Linked DNA regions of Homo sapiens: regions 2, 3 and 4 are each linked to region 1. The links are contacts of gene promoters, found by promoter capture Hi-C in blood cells and fetal thymus (Javierre and others, 2016). All regions are on one chromosome and are shown on one strand. Each heading gives the region's core, a stretch centred on a gene start or on the middle of the fragment in contact. The rest is flanking DNA. Distances are from core to core; before and after follow the strand shown.

Region 1 (2,663 bases), core at 112-2,611:
GACAATCCCTCCTCAAGAGTCCTCAGCATTTCCCACAGTCATTAACTTTTGCCAGTTTTAATTACCGTAATTAGTACCCTTCAGAAAGCAGCTCTTAGAAAGCGAAGGCTGGGCCTTACTCACCTCCGTCTACCCTACAACAGCAGCTCCCAAACCACTGGTCTCCAGCCCCCGCTGGGTTGGCCTGGGGATTTAGTAACAGATTCGGAAACCCCACTCTCAGGGATTCGGATTTACTGGGGCTGAGGTGGGCCTGGAAATCTGAACGTCTTAAGTTTTCCAGGTTTTCTGCCCCCAAGTTAAATTTTGTAATAAGGCCCTAAACTACAACATCAAGCTGGAAGTCTTGCATATGAAATATTCACGCGTTTTGACAGATGAAACCCGGAGACTGTAACCCACAGGACGCAGGGATTAACACAGGCCCTGTTTCAAGCTGCTAGGATGCTGAGCTCAAACCACAGCCCACAGGGACTCCCACTGGCAGGGGCCAGCGCTTAGGAGATGAGCGGACCCCTTAACTTCAAGGAGAGGGGGAACTTCCCGTGGACCAGAAAAAAAAAAAAAAAACTACTGTTAATTATCACAAAATCACAGGATGACAGAGGAGGCATCCTGTCTTCCAGGCTTCAAAAACACGAAGGATTAAGATGGTGATTAATTCAATCTCCAGTGCAAATAAAAACGCCAAGCCCCTGAACTTGCACCGGCCCGGAACGCGGCCGTTCCACAGCCCGCGGGTGAAGTGCGGCCCGGAAGCCGCGGGCGGGCGACGCGCAAGGCAGCCCAGGCCGCGGGTGGAATCGGGGCGCGGGGGCCCGCGGTGCCGCCGGGCGTTCAGAGCCGGTCCCTCGGGTCGGCCCACGCGGTCGCGCCGGCGCCTTTCACCGCCACGCAGAGGGGCCGTGGCCACGACGGCTCGGCCCTTTCCTTCCTGCGTAGCGAAAATGGCGGAGCGGCCTCTCCGAGCTCCGCGAGCGACCGGGCCTCCGACAGGGCCGCCAGTGGGCCGGACGGGGCCTGGCCAGGCAGGAGCAGGCCCCGTGCAGCCCGCGCCGCCCGCCGCCTCCCAGCGCGGGCGCCGCCTCAGCCGCCCCGGGCCTCAGGCCGCCCCCATCCCGCCTGCTCTCCCTTCCCTGGCCGGCCCGGCGGCAACGCCGCTTACCGGCAGCCGGGCGCGGCGAGCGCTCGGGCTCCGGCAGGTCCCCGAAGAGGTCCATGGCGGAGGCTGGGTGGAGGCGGCAGCAGCGACAGACACTCAGCCCGCGAGCAGCGGCCGGGCTCCACACCCCGGGCGGGCGGCAGCAGCGGGCGGGCGACGGGCAGGGGCGGCCGGCGCCGTCAGTCACCTGCAGGGAGAGTCCCGGACGCCACCAATCGGCGCGCGGCGTGGCCCGGCCGCCCCAGAGGGCTGCGCGCGGGCTGGGCGGGGCGGCTGGGGGCGGGGCGGTGCGCATGCGCGTGGGCCCCTCCCGCGCCCCGACTGCGAGCCGGGCGGACGGCGCCGTCTGGGCCCCGCGGTGTTTCCCGCCTTGGCGAACCCCGGGCCCCTCCTGCTTTTCCTTGGCTGGGGGTGTCCGATTTCTGTCAAGTTTCGTTGAGTTCCTGTCCAAGAAGCCCTGTCCAGAGAGAAACGTCTGAGCTCAAGGGCAGCCCCTGATGCCTGGGAAGGCTTTCTGGAGCTCTTGCCATCTCTTCGGCTCGTCCTTTCACCACGGCGTGCCTGGTTTCTGGCCTGTTTTAGAGACTGAGAAACCGAGGCTTGGATGGAGCGGCCCTGGGCGTCAGGACGGAAACCTCAAAAGATGCCGGAGGGAAAGGAGGCATTCCCTGACTTGTCTGCACCCACTGGTGTCTGTGGGGAGCGGAGAAGAGGGGCTCCTCCTTAATGGTGTCCCCCTCCATGCCTGTAAAGAGAAAGGCGGCCACTGACATCGGGGAGCTGGCCTGGTTCTGCAGCCAGGACTTGGGGTTGGTCTGGCACAAACAGCTAGGCCTGGGTGTTCTCTTTGAATGTGAACAATTTCATAAAACACCAACATCAGGCCGTGATACAGATCAAGAGAAAAAAACAGACCACTGTGTAATCAAGTGTGAACACAGACAAAACAGGAACACTGTCCAAGCCACAAAAGTGACCACATTCCCCTCGTCTTGGCCAATAAGAGTGATTGCTGCTTCTTTACCATTACATGTTTAGCCTTTGTCTCGTCCTCCTGCCGTCTAGATAAGCTTCATCAAGATATCCAATCATGGAATCCTCCTCTTCCTGACATCCAATCCGGAGCAAAGGCCCGTTTCCATAAATGTTTCCCCAAATCAACTAACACAAACCCAAATCTTACACCTCCGTTCCAACATCGTTTACCCAAGTTCCCCAGGTTATGTGGTCTCCCTCCATGCAAAGAGTTTTCAGCCCAGTTCATTCTGGGGCAGATGTATTTCTGACGCTCTCTGGCTGTAGGACATGGAGGGAGCCCAACAAGGCTTCATGCCTCTCATCTGCGTGGCTTCTCACTAGCAACCGTTTGAGATATTCATGCTGCCTCCTCCATTACAGCAGAAACACTCAAGTAACAATGCTTGTAACCGTTAAAGAAAGAGGAAATAAATACAAAAAGCGGCTCAACATTAAAAGGTTTATTTCAGAGAATAAACCTGAG
Region 2 (2,663 bases), core at 74-2,573, 320 kb before region 1:
TGCCTGCTGGGCTGGGGGGCTCTGGAATGGGGAGGAGGAGCCCCATTTCCCTTCTCAGAAAGCTCCAGGAGAAATGCATCTGTGAGGACCCACAGAGAGGAGCCCTCGTGTTGGGGGAGCTTGGAGGCTGGGGCTGGAGCGGGCGACTGCTGGCCTCACCCCTCCACACCCAGGGACCACCTTGTCATCCTCAGCACATCTTTTTCGGAAGTCTTCTGGCCCTGGGGGAAGGCACAGATGGAGAGACCTTCCCCAGACCCTGTGGTGACTTAGCGCGGAGCGTGGCACTGAGCCCACCATGGCGTCTTTCCCATCAGGTGATTAACTGCCTGGTTTCACATCCTCCTGAGTATGGGGATGAAATCAGGCCTGTGCGTCAACGCGAAAGGTCAGACATGCGGTGACGCTAACCAGATCCCGGCAGTGAGTGAAAGGGTGGGCAGGTGGAACACGTCTGGTGGCGGGGGCTCGTCGTAGCTCAGCATCCACCCCCGCCTCCCCTGTGGACACTCGACTACAGCAGCCACACCCCCAGAAAGCCCTAGAACCATCCAGGCTGTGCAGACGGGACTTGGCTGTCCTGGGACACAGGCCAGTTTGTGCACACAGGGCTTCACTGAGCCCCGAAGGCGGCCTCCTGGGCTGCCCATGGGGAAGGGGTGGGGGTGGGGTGGGGGAGAGAGGATGAAGATGTGCCCTTGTGTGTGACACCTCTGGCTGTGGGTCCTGTGTGGGGAGGGCAGTGGGTAGAGGACAGAGCAGATGTCCCCTCCTAATGCTGACCTTCACTCCAGCCCCCAGGCTGGGCCATGGCATCTCCCAGGATCTATCCATTCATCACTCAGATGGTAGACATCTCCCAGGCACAGGCAGGGCCAGCAGCATTCTCAGTCCCCTGTGGGAGGGCCTCCAGGGAGCAGTGGCACCTCACAGCCTTCCCTGTGCATAGTTCGAGGACACCGAGTATCTTGCGGGACCTAAGCACAGGGTGCCCTTTGGGATGCGTCTTGGGACAGGCCTTGGGTCTGAGTCCACTCTTGTTTCAGCTTCTTGTCTCAATCAAAAAATGGAGAATGCACTTTCTGAAAAAGAGACTGAGTTTACCCTCACTGCCCAGGCAGTGGAGGCCGCCTCACTCTAGGGCAGGCCACACTGGCACGCTGTGGTTCCCTACTCCTGCTCGAGTTAAAGCCATTTCCTGGTTTTTGCTATTATAAATGATGGAGCTGGGCACAGTGGCTCACACCTGCAATCCCAGCACTTTGGGAGACCAAGGCATGTGGATCACTTGAGCCCAGGAGTTCGAGACCAGCCTGGGCAACATGGCGAAACCAGGTATCTACAAAAAATGTAAACATTAGCTGAGTGTAATGGGCGCACCTGTAGTCCTAGGGAGGCTGAAGTGGGAGGATCGCCTCGGCCCAGGAGGTTGAGGTTGTGCCACTCCATTCCAGCCCAGGTGACAAAGTGAGACCTTGTCTGAAATAAATGACAACACTATAAGAACTTGTGTACATATATCCTTTGTTTTTTTAAAAAAGATTTTGTTGTTAGACATTCCTGGGAGAAATAATTCATGCAAGTAGGCTTACTGTAGCATGTACCATGAACATTCTGTGGTTCTGGGGGGTTTTTTTTTGAGACAGAATCCTGCTGTGTCGCCCAGGCTGGAGTGCAGTGGCACAATCTCGGCTCACTGCAACTTCTGGCTTCTGGGTTCAAGCGATTCTCCTGCCTCAGCCTCCCGAGTAGCTGGGATTACAGGTGCCTGCCACCATGCCTAGCTAATTTTTTGTATTTTTAGTAGAGACAGGGTTTCACTATGTTGGCCAGGCTGGTCTCAAACTCCTGATCTCAGGTGATCCACCTCCGCCTCTCAAAGTGCTGGAATTACAGGCGTGAGCCACCACGCCCGGCCCATTCTGTGGTTCTTGATAGATTTTTGCCAGTTGTTCCTCTAAAGAATTTTACTAATTTATAATTCTATCAGCAACATATGAAAATGCCTAGTTCCTCATAGGCTCGTGAGTATTGAGTTTGTAGGGATTTTATTTTTGCAGGTCAAAGGAGATTTCCTCTGTAGTTTTAGTTTGCATGTCTTTGGCAATTAGGAAAGTTGAACTGGTCTCTGACAGTTATTTGGAATTTGTTTTTTCTCAAGTGCAAGTTACGTCACCATGACCTTTCCTATTTGTCCTGTGAGTCATTGCCCTTTTTTCCTTTTTTTAAGACTTTATTTTTTAGAGCAGTTTTAGGTTCACAGCAAAATTGAGAGGAAGGTACAGAGATTTCCCATATGCCCATTGGAGGTATTTTTAATCTTCTTTTACAAATTCTTTTTTTTGTTTGTTTGTTTTGAGACGGAGTCTCCCTCTCTTGCCCAGGCTGGAGTGCAGCGGCACAATCTTGGCTCACTGCAACCCCTGCCTCCCGGGTTCAAGTGATTCTCCTACCTCAGCCTCCTGAGTAGCTGGAACTACAGGCACCCGCCACCACGCCCAGCTAATTTTTTGTATTTTTAATAGAGACGGGGTTTCACCATGTTGGCCAGGCTGGTCTCGAACTCCTGACCTCAAGTGATCCATCCGCCTCGGCCTCCCAAGATTACAGGCATGAGCCACTTTGCCCGGCCATAGATTCTTGAAGAATATATATATTAACTA
Region 3 (2,663 bases), core at 73-2,572, 280 kb before region 1:
TTGAGAACGGGAGAGGAAAGAGGTTTCAAGACATTTTTCTCTAGATTGTGAACATAATTGCACTTTGGTTCCCCCTAGAACAAATTTAAGAAGGACCTAAATTGCTTTTCAAGGCTATTTTAGGAAGTGAACTTGGATCTGACTTTGTTTTTTTTCTTCCTGGGCCTGTGCGGAGGTGGACCATGGGTGCCCATCTTTATTTGGGTTACAAAAATGTGAAGGGGGTGCAGAGGAACAGCGGGAAGAGAGCAGCCCTCCAAAGCATCCCTCTCTGCCCCACCCCAGCCACAATCCTTGGGCCTGGGGACAGTGCTCATGCCCCCACGTGAATCGCTTCCCCACAGACACTCTGACAGGAGGCCGGGGAAGTTTGCTTCCTGTTTTCTGGGGGCAGGGCGGGAGGCAGACAGGGGTGACTGGAGGTGCATGTCCATGACAGGTGGCAGCTGCTTTCCATCCCCAGTGCATCCTGCCATGAGAGCACCTACATCCCAGCCCTGCCCCTGCCACCTAAGATCTCTTCTTACAAGAAGCAGTGCCACCTTTAAAATGTTTCAAATGGTCAGGCCGGGTGCAATGGCTCCCACTTGTAATCCCAGTACTTTGGGAGGCTGAGGAGAGCAGATTGCTTGAGCTCAGGAGTTCGAGACCAGGCTGGGCAACACGACGAAACCCCATCTCTACCAAAAATACAAAAACTTAACCAGGTATGGTGGCGCACACCTGTGGTCCCAGCTACTCTGGAGGCTGAGGTGGGAGGATCACTTAAGCCTGGAGGTGGGAGGCTGCAGCAAGCCAAAATCATGCCACCGCACTCCAGTGTGGGTGACGGAGCAAGACCCCATCTCAAAAAAAAAGTTTCAGATGGTCATAGGTGTGAAAGTATATAATGTAAATAAAATGTTTTAAAAAACAATATTTTTAAAAGTTGTAGCATAGAAGTGATGGCACCAAGCTGCCTTAGTTGAAACCAAATCCTGGCTGTGCCGATTAAAAATGGTGAGGCAGGCTGGGCACAGTGGCTCACGCCTGTCATCCCAGCACTTTGGGAGGCTGAGGCTGAGGCTGGAGGATCACTTGAGCCCAGGAGTTTGAGACCAGCCTAGGCAACATAGTGAGACCTCATCTCTACAAAAAAATTTAAAAAATTAGCTGGGTGTGGTGGCATGTGCCTGTAGTCCCAGCTACTCAGGAGGCTGTGGGGGAGGATCGCTTGGGCTGGGGAGGCAGTAAGCCATGATCACACCACTGCACTCCAGCCTGGGTGACAGAATAAGACCCCATGTCAAAAAAAAAAAAAAAGAAAGGAAGGAAGAAAGGCGAGGCAAGCTCCTCAACCCTCTGGGCTTCAGTGTCATCGCCTGCAGAGTGCTGGCCATGGACACTTCAGGGACTCACAGTGAAGACAGCCCTTGGCCATGTGGCAGGCACATGGCAAACGCTGCTAACCGGGGCCATAGTGATTCACTTTCACAGCAGGGCTGGGAGCTGTGGCTGCACGTGCACGTGAACACATGTGGGTAAATGCTCCCGTCTCTCAGTGTTCCCAGCCCTTCTGCACAGAAGGTCGGGTGAGTCAAAAGGAGAATAATCGGTGATCATAATGATAGGAAACGATCGAGTTTGGGGATTGTCTCCTCCTCCTCGGGCTCGGCTGAGGATAAAGCAGTGCAGTCGGAGTCTGCCCAAGCTGCTGCTATAACAGGCTGGGGACTTAAACAACAGAAGTGCGTTTCTCGCAGCTGTGGAGGCTGGAAGCCTGAGATCAAGGGGTCGGCAGGGTTGGTTCCTTCTGATGCCTCTCTTCTTGGCTTGTCATTTCCTCCCTGCCTCATATGGTCGTCTTTCTGTGCCTGCATCCTAATCTTTTTTTTTTCTTTTGAGACAGGGTCTCGCCCAGTCACCTAGGCTGGAGTGCAGTGGCGCAATCTCCGCTCGCTGCAGCCCCCACCTCCCGGGTTCAAGCAATTCTCCCACCTCAGCCTCCCAAGTAGCTGGGATTACAGGTGTGTGCCACCACGCTTGACTAATTTTTGTATTTTTAATAGAGATGGGGTTTCACCATGTTGGCCAGGCTGGTCTTGAACCCTTGACCTCAGGTGATCCACCCATATTGGCCTCCCAAAGTGCTGGGATTACAGGCATGAGCCACTGCACCTGGCCCTAATCTTCTCTTCTTATAAGGGCACAGTCACATTGGGTTAGGGCCCACCCAGTGACCTCATTTAACCTTAGTCACCTCTGTAAAGACCCTGGGTCCAAACCCAGTCACATTCTGAGGTACTGCTGGTTAGGACTTCAAGATGTGAAGTCACATTCTGAGGCAAGGACACAACTCAGCCAGGACAAGAGCCACTTCCCCAACCATAAAAGTGTCACCCAGGGCAGTGGGCTTTTCTACCTGACCCAACACAGCCAATTTAAGCTGGAATGGAATTAAAGTGTTGTAATTCACGTGAAAAGTCATGGAAAACGGCACTGCAGTAAGGCATTGGCTACGGAAACATCACAAGATTGAATAAAGACCTGCTTTGCATCAACGCACATCATGGCACGTTCTCATTGTGGGAAAATGTGGTTTAATGAGGGAGACACGGGGAGGGGCAGAAGACCTCAGGGAGATTCCAAAGAGGATTCCCAAGCAGGTGCATTCACGGGCATTG
Region 4 (2,663 bases), core at 135-2,634, 270 kb before region 1:
GCTACTCAGGAGGCTGAGGCAGGAGAACGGCGTGAACCTGGGAGGCAGAACTTGCAGTGAGCCGAGATTGCACCACTGCACTCCAGCCTGGGTGACATGGCAAGACTCTATCTCAAAAAAAGAAAAAAAAATTCTCAAAATATTAGTAAATTGAATCCAACAACACATGAAAAGAATTAAACATAAATCAAATGATATTTATTCCAGGTATACAAGACTGATTCAGCATTCAAAAATAAATTAATGCAATCCATGACATCAAAAGTCTAAAGAAAAGAAATCATATGATCATATTCATTGATGCTGAAAAAGCATTTGACAAAACCAACACCCATCCATGATAAAAAAAATTCAGTAAATAAAACCAGAAAGAGGAGGGAACTTTGTCAGTTTGTTTTTTTTTAATCTACCCAAAAACCCTACAACTAATATTATACCTAATGAAGAAAAGTTGAATGCTTTTCCCCTGAGAACAGGAAAAAGGCAAAGATATCCCCTTTTACCACTATGATTCAATATCATACCAAAGTCCTAGGAAGTGCAATAAAACAAGAAAAGGAAATAAAATGTATACATATTGGAAAGTAAGAGGCAAAATTGTCTTTGTTCACAGATGAGATGATTGTCTGTGTAGAAAATCCCAAAGAATAAAGACTCCTAGAATGAATCAGTGTTTACAGCAATATTGCAGGATATCTGTTAATAGTTGAAAGTCTATTACTTTCCTACGGATATTATAATTTAGGAGGTTGGGGAGGGGGCTCTCAGGAAGGAATGCCGACCGTGACAAGAGAATCTAACTGTTGTTGATTTTAAAAAGTCAAACTCCAGATGGGCACAGTGGCTCACACCTGTAATCCCAGCACTTTGGGAGGCCGAAGCAGGCCGATCACGAGGTCAGGAAATCAAGACCATCCTGGCTAACACAGTGAAACCCTGTCTCTACTAAAAATACAAAAAATTAGCCGGGCATGGTGGCAGGCGCCTATAGTCCTAGCTACTCGGTCGGGAGGCTAAGGCAGGACAATGGCATGAACCCATGAGGCAGAGCTTGCAGTGAGATCGCGCCACTGCACTCCAGCCTGGGTGACAGAGCGAGACTCCATCTCAAAAAAAAAAAAAAAAATACAAAGATTAGCTGGGCATGGTGGTGCACACCTGTAATCCCAGCTACTCAGGATGCTGAGGCAGGATAATTGCTTGAACCTGGGAGGCAGCAGTTGCAGTGAGCCAAGATTGTGCCATTGCACTCCAGACTGGGCGACAGAGGAAGGCTCCATCTCGAGAAGAAAAAAAAAAGAAAAGAAATATATTTGGGGGCCGGGCCCAGTGGCTTATGCCTGTAATCCCAGCACTTTGGGAGGCTGAGGCAGGTGGATCAGCTGAGGTCAGGAGTTCGAGCCCAGCCAGGGCAACATAGTGAGACCCCATCTCTACTAAAAATACAAAAATTAGCCAGGTGTGGTGGTGGATACCTGTAATCCCAGCTACTCGGGAGGCTGAGGCAGGAGAATCACTTGAACCCAGGAGGTGGAGGCTGCAGTGAGCTGAGATTGCACCACTGCACTCTAGCCTGGATGGCAGAGTGAAACTCTGTCTAAAATATATATATATATATATATATATATGGATAAATATTTTGATTTCTTTCAGGAACACACTATCTGTCAAGTGATGTTATACTAGAATCAGGTTGGAATTTGGTATCTTATTACTATAAAGAGTCTGTTTTGTCACTCTTAAGACCTCTGTTTTAATGTTAGTGTTGGTCAGTTGTGCCTGAACTCCAAAGGGAGGAGAATATAATGAGGCATGTCTGACCCCTCTTTCCTGTCATCACATGAAGTAGTTTTTCAGGTTTCTTTGGACCCCCTTGGTAGAAAGGAGGGGTCTCTTCAGTCAGTTGGGAGGCTTAGAATTGTATTTTTGGTTTACGCAACAAACTGTATTACAAATGCATGCAACAACTTTGCTGGAGGGGATGGAGGGGTGGGGGTGGAGGGGATGGGAAGGTGCTGACCTAAGTAACTTGGAAATGAGTTGCACCTCTAAGACTAAAGACAGAAGGAATTGCACAAAAGCACTGTAGTCTAGTTAATAAAGTTGTTTGCTATGGAGGCATGAGCTAATAATTCAGATACTGCTCTACAAATATACTGGAATAGAGCAATTATGTAAACAGTGGCAGATGGTAGAAGCTACATTTCTCAGTGTGTTTACACAAAAGCAAGGGGAGGAAGCTAGAATGATCCATGTGGTGATGGATTATACATCAGTATGAATTCATTCTTAGCTTACTATAGATGCAGATAGCTACATATAGAAATAGTTGTAGATACATGCTGCTGGTTACATATGTGACATGAGTTAGTATGAACACATATACAGGTATGTGTCACTTAATGGTGTTAGAGTCTCATCAATGCACCACAATGGAGCAGTCTCTCATTGTGAGGTATCACCCAGAGTTCTTTGTCTTACAACCAAGAGAGTTGAGGAGTATGGACACAAAGGATGAGTTTGAAGCAAAAGTTTAATAAGTGAAAGAAGAAAGCTCTCTGCTGCAGAGAGGGGACTTGAAGAGGGTTGCCATTTTTACAACTGAATGCCAAGGCTTTTATAGGAAACTGAAGAGGGCCGAGTGTCTCATTTGCTTAAGGCAC

Evidence for each region. Contacts are between HindIII fragments. The CHiCAGO score rates a contact against its expected background, and 5 or more counts as called.
Region 2: a fragment that was not itself captured here is called in contact with the fragment with the promoter of ILKAP in region 1 in 1 of 17 cell types (erythroblasts); the score reaches 5.0 in erythroblasts.
Region 3: a fragment that was not itself captured here is called in contact with the fragment with the promoter of ILKAP in region 1 in 1 of 17 cell types (erythroblasts); the score reaches 5.2 in erythroblasts.
Region 4: a fragment that was not itself captured here is called in contact with the fragment with the promoter of ILKAP in region 1 in 1 of 17 cell types (activated CD4 T cells); the score reaches 5.5 in activated CD4 T cells.

Annotation. Positions count from the first base shown.
Region 1 is chr2:238,202,334-238,204,996 of GRCh38, forward strand. It overlaps ILKAP (ILK associated serine/threonine phosphatase), which reads right to left and starts at 1,362. Exons shown (of 12, transcript NM_030768.3): 1 at 1,166-1,362. The coding sequence starts at 1,220. RefSeq lists enhancers at 349-408, 1,371-2,243 and silencers at 779-868, 989-1,558. The HindIII fragment of the contact is 5,343 bases long and covers 1-2,230 here.
Region 2 is chr2:237,886,433-237,889,095 of GRCh38, forward strand. All of the region lies in intron 2 of RAMP1 (receptor activity modifying protein 1), which reads left to right. Among named protein-coding and RNA genes, the nearest start is that of RAMP1, 28 kb to the left of the region's middle. The HindIII fragment of the contact is 6,008 bases long and covers 1-2,663 here.
Region 3 is chr2:237,919,390-237,922,052 of GRCh38, forward strand. No RefSeq gene overlaps it. Among named protein-coding and RNA genes, the nearest start is that of UBE2F-SCLY, 46 kb to the right of the region's middle. The HindIII fragment of the contact is 7,029 bases long and covers 1-2,663 here.
Region 4 is chr2:237,937,264-237,939,926 of GRCh38, forward strand. No RefSeq gene overlaps it. Among named protein-coding and RNA genes, the nearest start is that of UBE2F-SCLY, 28 kb to the right of the region's middle. The HindIII fragment of the contact is 6,534 bases long and covers 1-2,663 here.